Linked DNA regions of Homo sapiens: regions 1 and 3 are each linked to region 2. Evidence: promoter capture Hi-C in human tissues and cell types (Jung and others, 2019). All regions are on one chromosome and are shown on one strand. Each heading gives the region's core, a stretch centred on a gene start or on the middle of the fragment in contact. The rest is flanking DNA. Distances are from core to core; before and after follow the strand shown.

Region 1 (4,433 bases), core at 1,404-3,903, 81 kb after region 2:
TTTTTTTAACTTTTAGGAAAAGTTTGCCAAATTTGGAAAAATGGAAAGAGTTAGAAATAAACACCCCCCCCCCTTTAGTTTCATGAGTTGTTAACATTCTGGTACATTTGCCTTCTCTCCGTCTCTCTCTTTCTCTTTGGTAAAAACCAACTCTAAATATTTCATTACACATCTCCAAAGAATAAGACCACTCTCCTATATTACCAGCTTAACACAAGTAACAGTAGTTCTCAAATATCCTGTAATATCCAGTCCATATTGAGGTTTAATTTCTACGAAGAGTTCTGGAGCTACAATATGTTTGAATGTGCTCGTTGTAGATGATTATAGGTGTTGGTCAAAGACTTTTTAATTGTGTTAAATAACCTGTTGTTGTATAAACCATAAGGGCCCAGTGAATATAGAGGTGTTCCTATTTAGCTATTTTGAATCCAGCTTTCTAGCTGCTATTTTGTCCTTTTGCATTTATTAAACCATGTATTGTCATTGCCAGTGACCAAGTACCTTTGCACTGATATTTCATTCACTTATTGAACAATTACTTATTAATCCCGTCTAAGATGGATTGAAGATTTACAGTGTAGTAAACATTGTGGCTTGTATGCATTAATTTAAATTTTACTGGAGTATGATAAAATAGATATCATTGCTATCATTTACATTTTAAAGATGAAGAAATGGACTGAGGAATAGAGAGGCTAAGACACTTGCTCAGGGTCACACAGCTGACCTCAGGTAGTGGCAGAACTGGGTTTTAATCCCAGGTAGTCTGGCTGCCTCTCACAACTTGTTGGGTCACCAGACTCTTATCATTGGCTGAAGGAGGTCAGGAAGGCTGTACTGTACCTGGGTGGTGGTTGGTCAGCCTCATGACAGGTGGGGCAGGGACGCAGGCCTGAGGGCCAGAGGAGAGCATGAGCATGGGTACTTGGGAGGCTGTTGGGCCGGAGTAGGGCTCAGGGCTCTAGACACCGGGGTCCAGGGCAGCTATGGGGTTCAGACCCTGAGAAGCCAAGGTGAAGAGTTTGGCTTCATCTTGCAGACTTGGGGAGCCTCTGAAGGGCTGGGAGACTGGTGGAGACCGGCCCCATCTGTGCTCTGGAACGATGGCTTTGGCTTGACTTGGGCACATGGATTCAAGAGTGAGTTGGGAGGTGCAGCCGACAGGATGTGGGGTTATTACTGGGCACTGCTGAGATGGGGAGGGAGGAGCCAGGGAGGACCTGGTGTTTTGTGCTTGGGTCATGAAAAGTACTTAGAATTCAAGCCACACCAGTGTGGTTCCCAGGTGAGCCTCAGGTTCCCAGGGGAAAACCTGGCCAATCCTTGCAAATATAGTGAATCGCTTCCCTCCTGGCCTTCTGGAAACTTCTCCTTGTCTTACTGGTGCGCTGCCAGCACGCTTTGATAATAGTATGCTTCCCTGTCTGACTTTGAGTTCCTTGAAGCCGGGTGCTTTTTTTGAGTCATCTTAGATTCTCTGGCTCCTGATACGAGGCCTTGCACTTGGTAGGTGCTCAGGAAGTGCTTGTTGCAGGGATACCCTCGTTAGCCCCTGACCGCACCGCCCTAGGACTGGAACACCTCTAAGGAGCCTGCCGTCACCTGAAGTTCCTCGGGGATGTGGACAGAGACTGCTTCCGCTATGTTTGCGCTGTACATACCCCCTGGCTTTGTGAACATGGTTTTCTTTCTGGCTGTATGTGTTGTATCAAGGCTTTGCAGTGCTTGTTTCTAAAGAAGTTTCTGTAGTGTCAGTGGGGTTAACCCTGGGTACACATTTCTTCACACCGGGAAGTGTTTCAGCAGCTTACCGGGGCGTGTGTCAGGAAGTGACTTTTCTGCTCTGTATTATTAGGTCAAAAAGGCAGTTCTTCCTCACTTACAGAAGGGATTGATTAGTTGAAATACTGGCCTACAGAGTAAATGTATCCCAAATTTAGCAAATGTAAGTAATCTGGAGAAAGTCATTTAATTTCAATTGTATGATATAGGCAAAAAAAGAAAGACAAGGAAAAGAAAAAGAAAAATATCCAAAGGTATGGCAGCAGCCTTAATATATATGTCTTTAGATGTTTTTGATGTTTACATGGTTAGTTTTAAAATGTAGCTACATATTTTCTACTTTATATTTTGTCCTTTCTTCAGACTCTCCCCTTCTCCGTTACAATGTATTTTTATGTTATGAGTAAACAGTTTTTTCAAACATTTTACTTCCTGTTTTTTAATAAATGTGATTGTTACCTAAGTTTTTCAAAATGAAATAAAAAAATTTATTTCAAAAATTATATAAGGCATTTAAAAAAAGTGGCCTTGAACTGTTGATTACATCTCTGGAGAAACACACACACATACACACACACTCACACACACTCACATACAGCAAGAGATCCATTGGAAATCTGCTTTAAAACCCTAGTCAGCAAGTCATATTTATGCCTAAACAATTAAATTACGGTTTTGTCTGGCATGTTCCCAGTTCCAGCCTTGGAAAAAGTTTGTAATACATCTTACCAGAACAACAAATCTGTGATTGAACACACAGGCACACCATGTGTTCAGATGGGTCCCTGCCGTCCGAGGTGCGTGGGCGCCATATTGCATGTCAGCTGGACACATGCTGTACCCTCCACCTTGGCTCTGAGCATCTGTGTTGTTGCAGAACCTTTCCGTATTCCCTGTGGTTTGGGTGGCAGGCTCACATGCACAAGTTTTATAAGGCTGGTTATCTCCAGGCCCGTGTGTTACAGGGAGAGTTGGAACAACTTGTATTTGGCGTGCGTTTGAGAAAGTGGAATAGAGCAGCCCAGGACGGAAATGTCTGCGGCTGGAACTGAGGTAGGTAGCACTTTATCACACGGCGCTGCTCCTACGTGAGGCACGCCCCACTAGGGACCAGGATAAAGGTGGAGGAGGCATCCCATCGAAACCCTCCTGGCTTACAGGGGTTGGCGGGATTTAAAGCACAGCCCGTCGTGCCAGCAGGGCCGCTGACGTCCCAATAATCCTCCTAATTGGGGCGGCCGCCCATGGCGTGTTTTGAAGTTGGAAGCTCTGAGGACAGCATTCTTGTTCTTTTTTTGGAAGGGATGCCCTTGTCTTAAATAGCAATTTTTGCCTGCAGCTAAAAAGAATGATTACAGAGATCTTTTGATTTGGCCACTGAGTAACCCCTTAGGAGAGTTCGTTGCAGGGAATTAATTTTTGACTGTTTCTTTAAGGTTTGAGAAACTTTGCTAGTCAACTGTGGACATCAGGAGGGGATCACTTAATCAACCCCTGGGCAGAGGCAGCTTTGCTCACGTGTCCTTCAGATAATGGCGGTTTGGGCTTAACTTGGTTACTGTCTCAGCACTTTTTCTATTTCTACATTTATGTATCTTTCCCTTCACAATGTTCTTAAGTCTAAAAACACATCCTGTGCAGTTCTCACAGGGATTTACAGCAGGTCTTATTTTTGAAAGATGGGACAGGCGGAGAGGTAGTGAGCAGGAAATAGGAAAGAAGGAAGAGCTTGCTTTGTTGATCGCAGAGCATCGTGGATGCTGCTCCTTGAACGTCTGCCTGTAAATTGCAGGGCTCTGCAAGTTTCGGGGAAAGCTTTTAAGTGAGTTTAAGGAAATGGAGACTGCATTCTCTAGTCACCGGGTGCCTGAGGGCCAGGGTTCAGGCTCTAGCTAGGGCGGGGGTACCGGGGAGTCAAGGCTGTGCAAGGATTGGATGGGTCCGATGCTGGCACAAAGGCCTTTCAGATGTACAAGGGCCATGCTCCTTGATACTGTGCCATCTTCCGCTCAGCCGTGGTCATGGCCCAGGATGCCGAGGCTGTGCTGCTGAGCTGGGCTAGATGGGGCTGTATTTGGGGGCTCTGGTGATCCACGAGCGAGAGTGTCTGTATTTCCCCAGCACTCCTGGAAGGGTACCTGCAGGGTAGGAAGCTGCCTGGGATGAGAAGAGGGGCCTAAGTGCCAGGTGTGTGTTTGCCTGGATGTCCCTGGGGTCTGGATGCTGTGGGCTCTGAGGGGGTCACTGGATTTTATAGAAGGAGGCATTTGCAAGGGGCTTCGGTGACATGTGGCTTCTTCTTATTGTTTCTCTGTGCCTGACAGAGGAGGGGACGAGTTGAGGGCGTGAAGGACACGCCTAGAAAGGCATGTGGCTGGTGACTGGGAGCATGAGGGCTGGGACCAGGGTTCCCAACTGCACGTGTGCACTTTGTGCTGAATGCCCTGTGTTGGCCATGACCCTGTGACCTGCACGCTGACGGGTGCACAGCTGCTGGCACACAGCTGGCTGGCACAGAGGCCGCTTCTCTGGGCGCAGACCCCAGGAGCTGCTGCTCTGAAAGAAGGCAGGAGCTGATAGCCCTAGAGCACAGGGTTTTGGTGATTGGTGTGAGTCTTTGCACAGAACAAATCTCCTTTTGCTTCATG
Region 2 (3,916 bases), core at 1,282-3,781:
ACCGCGCCTGGCCTACCCTTAACTGTTTTGAAGTCAGTGATGTCCCCAAACGGGCAGGTCTTTTGCCTTTTACCCTTAACCGTTTTGAAGTCAGTGATGTCCCCAAAGGGGATTATTGCTTCCCCAGGGAATCACAGTCTAGTGGCAGAGCCTTTCAAACCCACAACAGCTGTCATGCCTGAGACAGCTCAAGCAAGCCTGAGGGACATGGGAAGAGAGCATCCCAGGCCCATTCTGATCCATGGGAATCTAAGAAGGCCTCCTGGGGGTGGCGAGATTTGAATGTATCCTGGAGAGCAGGTAGGCATTTGTGGTAGACACTGTAGTGGGCCACCCAGAGTCCCCCTCAACCAAGCGCTGTCCCGCCAGCTGCAGAAAGTGTCAACTATTGACAACCTCTATCTGGGGACTCTCCAGGAACTGCCCTTCTTGAAGGGCACCTCACCCAAACACAGGTACCCTCCCTGGACACAGCCTGTCCCCAGCGAGTGGCCAGCGCATGGGTGCAACGCCTGGCCTCCTGCCTCAGGGGGAGTGACTCTCAGGGCTCTCAAATTCAGAGCCCTCCATGGGGTTGGCCGAGGCCTCTGTTGCAACTGTTCCTCAGTTCACCTTCCTCTTCTGCCCACCCTGGGTCCTGCCATTCTTCAGGTGTGGCTCCTGAGAGCACCGGCCTGTGAGACCCTGCGGAGAAATCACCGCCAACCGTGTGAGCACTCACCGCAGGGAAACAGCCTTCCACCACCTCCGCCTCCTGCTCTTGACCAAGCCCGCTAGGAGCACTAGGCCTCAGCCTCCTCATCTGTAAGACAGGGGCCAAAATGGTCTTAATTCTCAGAGTGTCATAAGCATGAAATGAGAGCGTGCACAGAAAGCCCTTACTTAGGCTTGGTGTGTAGTGAACGCCCAATAGAAGTGCTTGGTGTGCAGTGAATGCACAATAGAAGAAGTGATATGTGGCCGGGCGCGGTGGCTCACGCCTGTAATCCCAACACTTTGGGAGGCCGAGGTGGGCGGATCACGAGGTCAGGAGATCGAGACTATCCTGGGTAACGCGGTGAAACCCCGTCTCTACTAAAAATACAAAAAATTACCCAGGCGTAGTGGCGGACGCCTGTAGTCCCAGCTACTTGGGAGGTTGAGGCAGGAGAATGGCGTGAACCCGGGAGGCGGAGCTTGCAGTGAGCCGAGATCGCGCCACTGCACTCCAGCCTGGGCGACAGAGCGAGACTCCGTCCCCCCAAAAAAAGAAGTAGCGGTATGTATGATGTTGTTCGTCACAGAAAGCATGGAAAATACAGAAAGACACAGAGAAGAGAGTAAATTCACCCATGGGTCTACTGCCGGGTTAACAGGCACTACCAAGATTTCAGGTGGTGGGGGCGCACGCGCATGCGCACCAACACACGGGCCCTAGAAAAATAAACTCGGGATCCTAAGCGTGTACGCTGCGGTGCCCACACACGCGTCTGCCGTTCTCACCCCGTTTTCTGCTTTAATTTTCTGCTTAAATTGGTCATTTTCTGTGAAATGCACATTCCACTTCTGGGTAGTGTGCACCGCCCATCTCCCCCACGGAGTGCAGGAAGGTGGCAGCGGGGCTGTGTTCCAGGCCAAGGCCACACAGCCCGGGGGGCCGCACGCGGGGGCAGCCTTGGTACACGAGGCCTTTCATTTGTTGGTTTTACAGCTGGAAGAATTCGGATATACTTATTGACCGAGAGAAGAGTCCAAAACTCAGGAGTGGAAAATAACGAAGAATGAAGAAAGGAAACAGGAAGAGGTTGACCTGATTGATGGAAAGGAGCTCCTCTTTCTCCAAAACCAGAAGGAAAAGGAAGATTTAGAGAGCAGAGGAGGGTAAGTTTCCCCCGGATAATATGGGTTCAGTTGCATAATACGGCCAGGATGTTATCTGCAAAGAAGCTGTGGGGAGGAGAAGGCAGAGCAAGGAGCGCAGGGCTGAGACTGTGGGAGATGCAGCCGGAAATGACAAAACAGAAACAAAACGTGACCAAGGCCATTTGGGGTCCAGCTGAAGTTCAGCGGCTTAGATGCGTAGTAAGTCCCATGAGCACTGTTGCACGACTTGCCCACAGCTGTTCACATATGGACTTTGCAGCTCACATTGACTCTGGCCAGGGCGGGAGAGCCGGGGAGCCAGGCAGGTGCGTGGGAAGGGAGAGAAGAAAGGGAAGACGCGGTGCCCATTCCATATTTACCTTAGTAGTCATCCAGACGCACTTCCCTCTCCAATCCCCAAACAAGAAGAGGCAGAAACTGTCTACCAGTTAGACGGGAGGTGTCAGCGCCCCTGGAGGCTGTGGCCATTGCCAGGGAGACCCCACTCTGCACAGCTCACAAACACACCGTGTGTGTGCAGGGTCCTCACCCGCCCTGGGCAGGAAATGGGGGAGTTCTACGTCCACTTTGTCACGCAGACAATGGAGGGGACCGCAGAAGGGGCTTCCCCAAGGACACAGAGCCAGTGGCCGCCTCACTGTGTGCCCCTCAGTGGGCGTTTCCACACTGCCTGGCAACTTTGAGAACAGCCGCTTTCGCTGGGTCTCCAGTGAAACTTGAAACCATTTGCATCTGCAAGTACTTTACTTATTCCATTTCAAAGGCATGCACATTTTTAAAGGGACACTGTTTTTAGCTCCTGCGTCACTGACTCATCCCGCATAATTTGACTTTATGGGACAGGGTCCCCTAAGGAGTGTCCTTGCCTTGACAGTCCTGTCTTGAAAGCTGTGAAGACCAAGTGGTGCCATATATATTGTTTTAAAATTATGGACTACCTAGAAAAGAGGTGAAATAGTAAAAAAAAGCAAAACTTTTAATATTCAATGACAAACACAGACAGAAAATAGGGAAAAATTAAATGTTAATGTGTTGGGATGATTGGATTTTGAATAAATTTTATTTATTGAATTGATATGAAGTTTATGGAACAGGGATAAACAGTTTGTTTCATATGATTATATATTTAGGTATTCGTTGACATACATATATACGTATACATATACACGTATGTATTGCCGTGTGTACATATAGACACATAGCATGTATGTATAAAACATATACATATGTGCCAAATTACAAAACGAGAAGTCGTGTTGCTCATCCTGCTCTATTATAAGAAACCTCAAGCAACAGTAGGTACTGGAAAATGCCAAGTCTGCATGATCCCGGCAAGGGCAGATCCTGCCACTGGAGTTCTGGAATGCATCTCTCCCCACTTGGCAAAGATGCAGGGTGCAGAGGGGGTGTCAGCAGAGGGGCTGGGTGCAGAGGGGTTGCAGACTTACCACAGGAGGACTTTATCAAGAGATGTGGGTTTTCTGGGCATCCAGGACACCCACAATGGGGTGACAGAATTGTCTGTGGAGTGGAGTCCTAGTATTGAACTTGGCAGCTGCTACCGGATGCTCTTCTGGCACCTATGTTTTCAGAAAAACAGGAGCTGGCCAAGAGTATTTGCCAGATTTCTCCCTGGATTGGACTGATTTCTGCACTCAGCCCAGGTTTGTTTTTTTTTTTTTTTGGTGTGTGCCCCCGCGCCCGGCTAATTTTTGTATTTTTAGTAGAGACGGGGTTTCACCTTGTCAGCCAGGCTGGTCTCGAACTCCTGACCTCAGGTGATCCGCCTGCCTTGGTCTCCCAAAGTGCTGGGATTACAGGCGTGAGCCATGGCACCCGGCCTCAAACCAGCCTCAATCTGAAGGACGTGCATACTCTCCACAGGTCCCACAGGTCTTTCTAGGGTCCTTGCCCCTTACGTGCACTTCCTCTCTGAAGAGGTCCTTCCTCCACCATGTTGTCCCAGCCTGAAATTGTCCCTCATTATGGAGACTTGAGTGGTGTCTCCCACTGACTCCTCTCTCAAGGGGTGAGGGTTTGCTTGACCAGACAC
Region 3 (4,499 bases), core at 1,428-3,927, 120 kb after region 2:
GAAGTGAGAGAGATGCAATTTGCAGTAAGCTTGTATTTAGAAGCATTCTTTCCTGGGCAGGAGGTAACTTGGTTCAAACAGCAAAACAGGCTCTTTCCACGGCTGTTTCCCCGAGAACCCCGACTCCTCCACTGCAGCCGTTGCACTTCAGAACCCACCTCCGCAGAATCCAACGGAGAGGCAGGTTCTGCATGGCCACCGCTGAGAGCTGGCTGTGCCCTCTTTGCACCCCCTTGATCATGGAATATACATCCACTTACTTACAGTCTAAGGCGATGGCTCAGAGGCGTGCACTTAGTGGTTGGAAAATTCACATCTAGTAAAGTTAGATGGGTGTCAAAGCCACAGCCGGGCTTGCCGTGACAACCGTCAGTGCCAGGCCATTGTCACACACATGAGCTGGCCAGAGAATAAGTGCTCTGGGAACACTCACGCCTTATCAGTTCTGTTCTGTTAAGAGCTCTTCTCAGCTAGCTCTAAACTACTATTTTCTTTTTCTTTTCTTTTTTCCTCTTTTCTTTTTCTTTTTTTGAGACGGAGTCTTGCTCTGTTGCCCACGCTGCTGGAGTGCAATGGGGCGATCCTGGCTCACTGCAACCTTCACTTCTTGGGTTCGTACAATTCTGCTGCCTCAGCCTCTCCAGTGGCTGGGACTGCAGGCATGTACCACTACACTTGGCTAATTTTTGTATTTTTAGTAGAAATGGGGTTTCACCAGGTTGGCCAGGCTGCTCTTGAACTCCTGACCTCAGGTGATCTGCCCACCTCGGCCTCCCAAAGTGCTGAGATTACAGGCGTGAGCCACCGCATCCAGTGTAAACTACTATTTTTTTGTATTAGAACCCAGAGCTGATCCATTGTGGTGAGACATTTAAGAATGTGTGGTGTCTGTGTGTGCACACACGTATCACTTGATTTGAAAAATAGATTAAAAGCCAGATTCTCTATGTGTTTAATATCACATAGTTGGTGCGAACATGATTGGCCCATTCTTCTCATGACTTATGTCATTTTAAGAAATTTAAGACCAAATTTTAGAATTTATTGGTTTATCTTTCACATAATTATTCTTAATTGAGCCTTTAAACAACTACAGTGCTAATGAAGTAGGTAACCTTCTTCGGGTGAAGAAAGTTAAAGAAAACCTGAAAAGAGAATTTTGATCGACAGTAGTATGTAGATTCAAATAGCAGTTTGTGGTTTACTGTGTAACTCTTGAAAATCACCAGAGACACGAAAACTGTGTACATTCAGCATTGCCTGTATTGCCAGCTGGTATACATAGTGACAGAGGGCATTTGTTCTGTGATCAGCTAAATTGTAAGACATTATATTACATTTTAGGGATGAAAACCCTTAAAATAAACTGAAACCCAGCTGAGGAAAATAACACGTGGAACTGGTATCCCAACTTTAAATAAGATTATTTTTCAGTGAAATCGTACTTCAGGATATGCTAGTATGCTGTTCAAGAAAGTAGGAAAATGGCTTGTTTCAGAATAAGTAGGCTTTTTTAAACAACTGGATTGTAAACAATTGGTAATGCTGAAAGCCAAACAACAATGAAGGATTTCACTAATTTAATGTAAATACATAGGAATCTATATATGTACATGTTAGTCTTTAAAATTCTGTAAGAAATACAGTTTTAAAGTGAAGTTTTTGAGTAAGGGTAAAAGATAATGTTTTGATGGCCTAAGAATTTCTCAAGAATAAAACTTTTTGTTCCAATGTTTGTTTAAAAAAAGTGACATGAAATTTCTTGAACTGTTTAGTAATCAGACAAACTGCTTAAATATTGTATCAGTTTGAAAAAACATTTAACGAAACCTTTTAAATAAGCAGATGTTCACTAGTCTTGAATACATAAGAACTGTGTGAAGACTTGGGACATTTTTGTTCATGAGGTTTCGTGAAGATTTTTCTTGTTCACCAATATTATTGGCTTTTACGTCATCATTTAAAGACCTGTTTCAATTTTAGTTTTATACAGTCACATTGAACCCCTGCCCAAAGTGGGTTAGATGAAGAAAACATATATCTTAGCATAAAATCAGTTCCGGTGGGAGGAAACCGTGGCAGCCCAGATATTTGGGGGTGGGCGTTAAGGTGTGCTGAGGTATTCGAGGGGATGAAATTGAACCAGTCATGACATAATTTTTTTTTTGAAACAAAAAATGTACTTTATCTTATTAATATAGTCATATAAAGTGAATGTAGTTGGTTGATTGATAATGGGATTGCATGGGAAACCTGGATCCTTTTCTCTTCCTTAGTCCTAGCATCTTTCTATCGATTGATTGATTGAACAGACGTCTGTTGGGTGTGGTGCTGCTAGGCAAGATGAACGATACCCTCTCCCTGCTGCCTAGGAGCCTGGCGTCCGCCAGAGAAGGATTTTAGATATGTGTAATTTATATATAATTTTAAAGTCATGTAGTAGTAGAATTTAACTGCTAAATTCTACTTAAAGTTCTTCCACTACATTTTTATTGTTTTGGCAAGGTTTGCAGGATTGAATTAGTCACTAAGGAGAGAGAGAGTGTGGTCAACTTTAAAGCCACAGAAAATCTTTTTTAAAAAATGGGAATAAACCGTATGGCATTTTCAGCAGTACGTCCTGTTTCCAAATAATAGCACTTCGTTTCTGCCTCCGCTTCCCGCTTCCTCACAGAGGCCTTGGTTTCAGCATTACCTTGGCAGGTGCAGTGTCTCATGTCTAAGGAGAAGTGGGCCTCTGAGCAGGGCTCACTGTGGGCCGCGGTGGCGTGCAGTGATGCTAGGTTCTGGTAGGTTCCGGGTAGGTTATGGCGGGACTCAGAGGTGGGCGAGGTGGAGGGAGGATGCCACACTCAGCCCGGTGTCCCGGGACATTGAGGGAAGAAAGACTAGAAAGAAGACCCGGAGTTCTTTGGGAGAGGAGAGGACTCAGTGGGACCATGGAATCCCTGGTTGCCCAAAACTGTGTCCAGACAAAATCTTGAGAGGAAAAGAGTCCAGGAGCTGCCTCAGTTGCTGTTGGTCACTTTGTCACGTGGGGCCACATCTTGGCAACGACTTGACTTCCTGCTTCCACATCAGGAGGCACGGTGTGTCCTTATCCTCCGGCCTCCCCTCCCTTCCTCTATTACCCAGTGCATTGCAGTCCTTGAGGAAGAAATGAGGTCAGTCTCCATGGCCATTGTCTTCCTAAGGCTGGCCCTGCTGATCGCCAGGTGGGTTCGTAGAGTGTGTGGGCTCCCGTCGGTCCCCAGGTGAGTGGAGGCAGTGTTTGGGGTCACGCCTGTGTGCAGTAGGACTAAGCTAAGAGTAGGAATGGCCCTCCCAGGAGGGGAGGAGAGCCTTGGGCTGGAGTGGCCCACCCAGAGTCAGGGCTGTTTTCAGGTTTTCCTGTTTCAGGCCGTCCCTTTGGGTGCCGTGTACGTCCCCTCTGTCCCCAGTGAGGAAGGAGAGCATCGCCAGGGTGTTCTCCCCTGGAAGTGCAGCAGCAGTCAGCACGGCGACCTTCGCTGGTCTTGGTCCCGGACTTAGGAATGCAGCCTCATCAGGGAGCTGTGAATCATTAGTGCCGCTTCCTCTGAAAATAGTTTTTGACATTCAGCTGCAACAATGCCACTATTTACCATCTACATGGTGGTCTCTGGGCTGCTCTTGCATTTTGCCGAGGTCATTAAAAAATCTGGAATACACACCCACACGGTCTTGGAGAGGATACGTTTTATGATCTGGGATCATCTCGGGTTGACTCCTTTGAATGTTCAGATGTTTTTATTTTAAGAGTATTTTAAGGTTAAGATGACCTATGTGCTTTGCTAGTTTTCTTATCTAAGTATGTGATAATAAAAAGTGGTATTTTAAATATTTTAAAAACTGCTTTATGCTGGAGGGGTGGTACACGTTTTCAGGCACTGTCTCCCCACTGCCTGAGTGCAGAGGGCTCCTGGCAGAGACTGTCCCATCCACCTCCTCATTTTGTGGATGAAAAAGGAAGGTCAAGATGAGGTTTCAGGTCTTTGGAGCCTTCTGAGCCCTCTCCGTAGTCAAGCGGTAATTTTAGGACTTGTTGAGTTTGATGCTTTGGGCTTTTGTGTTTCAGAAGTTTTTTGTGGTGTTTTCAACACATCCTTCCATGCTTTTGGCGTATTTTGTAACTTTTAAGTATTTTATAGTTTTAATTTTGCTTTGTTCCCCACCTTTGCTGCTCTCCTCTGAATGCCATGGAATAGTGTCTTGTCTATTAACTCTGATGTCAGTGATCCTAAGTGAAGAATCCAACCTTAGAATTACCTGTGGTTAAGAAATATTTTTGTTGAAGCCGCGACTTGCTGAAATGCTTGGAAATGTTCTTGTCTCCAGTGCAGGATGTTCAGTGGAACTGAGTGTATTTTGGAGGCTGTTGATGTAGAATCTGCACTGTGTGTAGCTGGGGTGCAGTGAGGCATTTTGTCTCTGGGGTATTGCGAAAGGTACACGACACCCATTTCATCCAGAATGACAGG

What was found. The method cuts DNA at HindIII sites, captures the fragments that hold promoters and counts their contacts. A contact is called where the count stands out against the background at its distance.
Region 1: a fragment that was not itself captured here is called in contact with the fragment with the promoter of LINC00908 in region 2 in 2 of the 25 tissues and cell types used here (lymphoblastoid cells and mesendoderm cells).
Region 3: a fragment that was not itself captured here is called in contact with the fragment with the promoter of LINC00908 in region 2 in 2 of the 25 tissues and cell types used here (lymphoblastoid cells and spleen).

Annotation. Positions count from the first base shown.
Region 1 is chr18:76,445,825-76,450,257 of GRCh38, reverse strand. The region is part of intron 2 of ZNF516 (zinc finger protein 516); the gene reads left to right. Among named protein-coding and RNA genes, the nearest start is that of ZNF516-AS1, 44 kb to the left of the region's middle. RefSeq lists enhancers at 538-1,037, 1,038-1,539, 2,425-3,002, 3,003-3,581, 3,582-4,160. The HindIII fragment of the contact is 3,236 bases long and covers 1,036-4,271 here.
Region 2 is chr18:76,527,270-76,531,185 of GRCh38, reverse strand. LINC00908 (long intergenic non-protein coding RNA 908) reads right to left here and starts at 2,531. Exons shown (of 3, transcript NR_015417.1): 1 at 2,223-2,531; 2 at 722-802. RefSeq lists enhancers at 870-1,509, 1,933-2,012, 1,510-2,148, 2,149-2,789. The HindIII fragment of the contact is 15,253 bases long and covers 1-3,916 here.
Region 3 is chr18:76,411,233-76,415,731 of GRCh38, reverse strand. All of the region lies in intron 3 of ZNF516 (zinc finger protein 516), which reads left to right. Among named protein-coding and RNA genes, the nearest start is that of ZNF516-AS1, 78 kb to the left of the region's middle. RefSeq lists an enhancer at 3,191-3,751 and a silencer at 4,456-4,499. The HindIII fragment of the contact is 9,760 bases long and covers 1-4,499 here.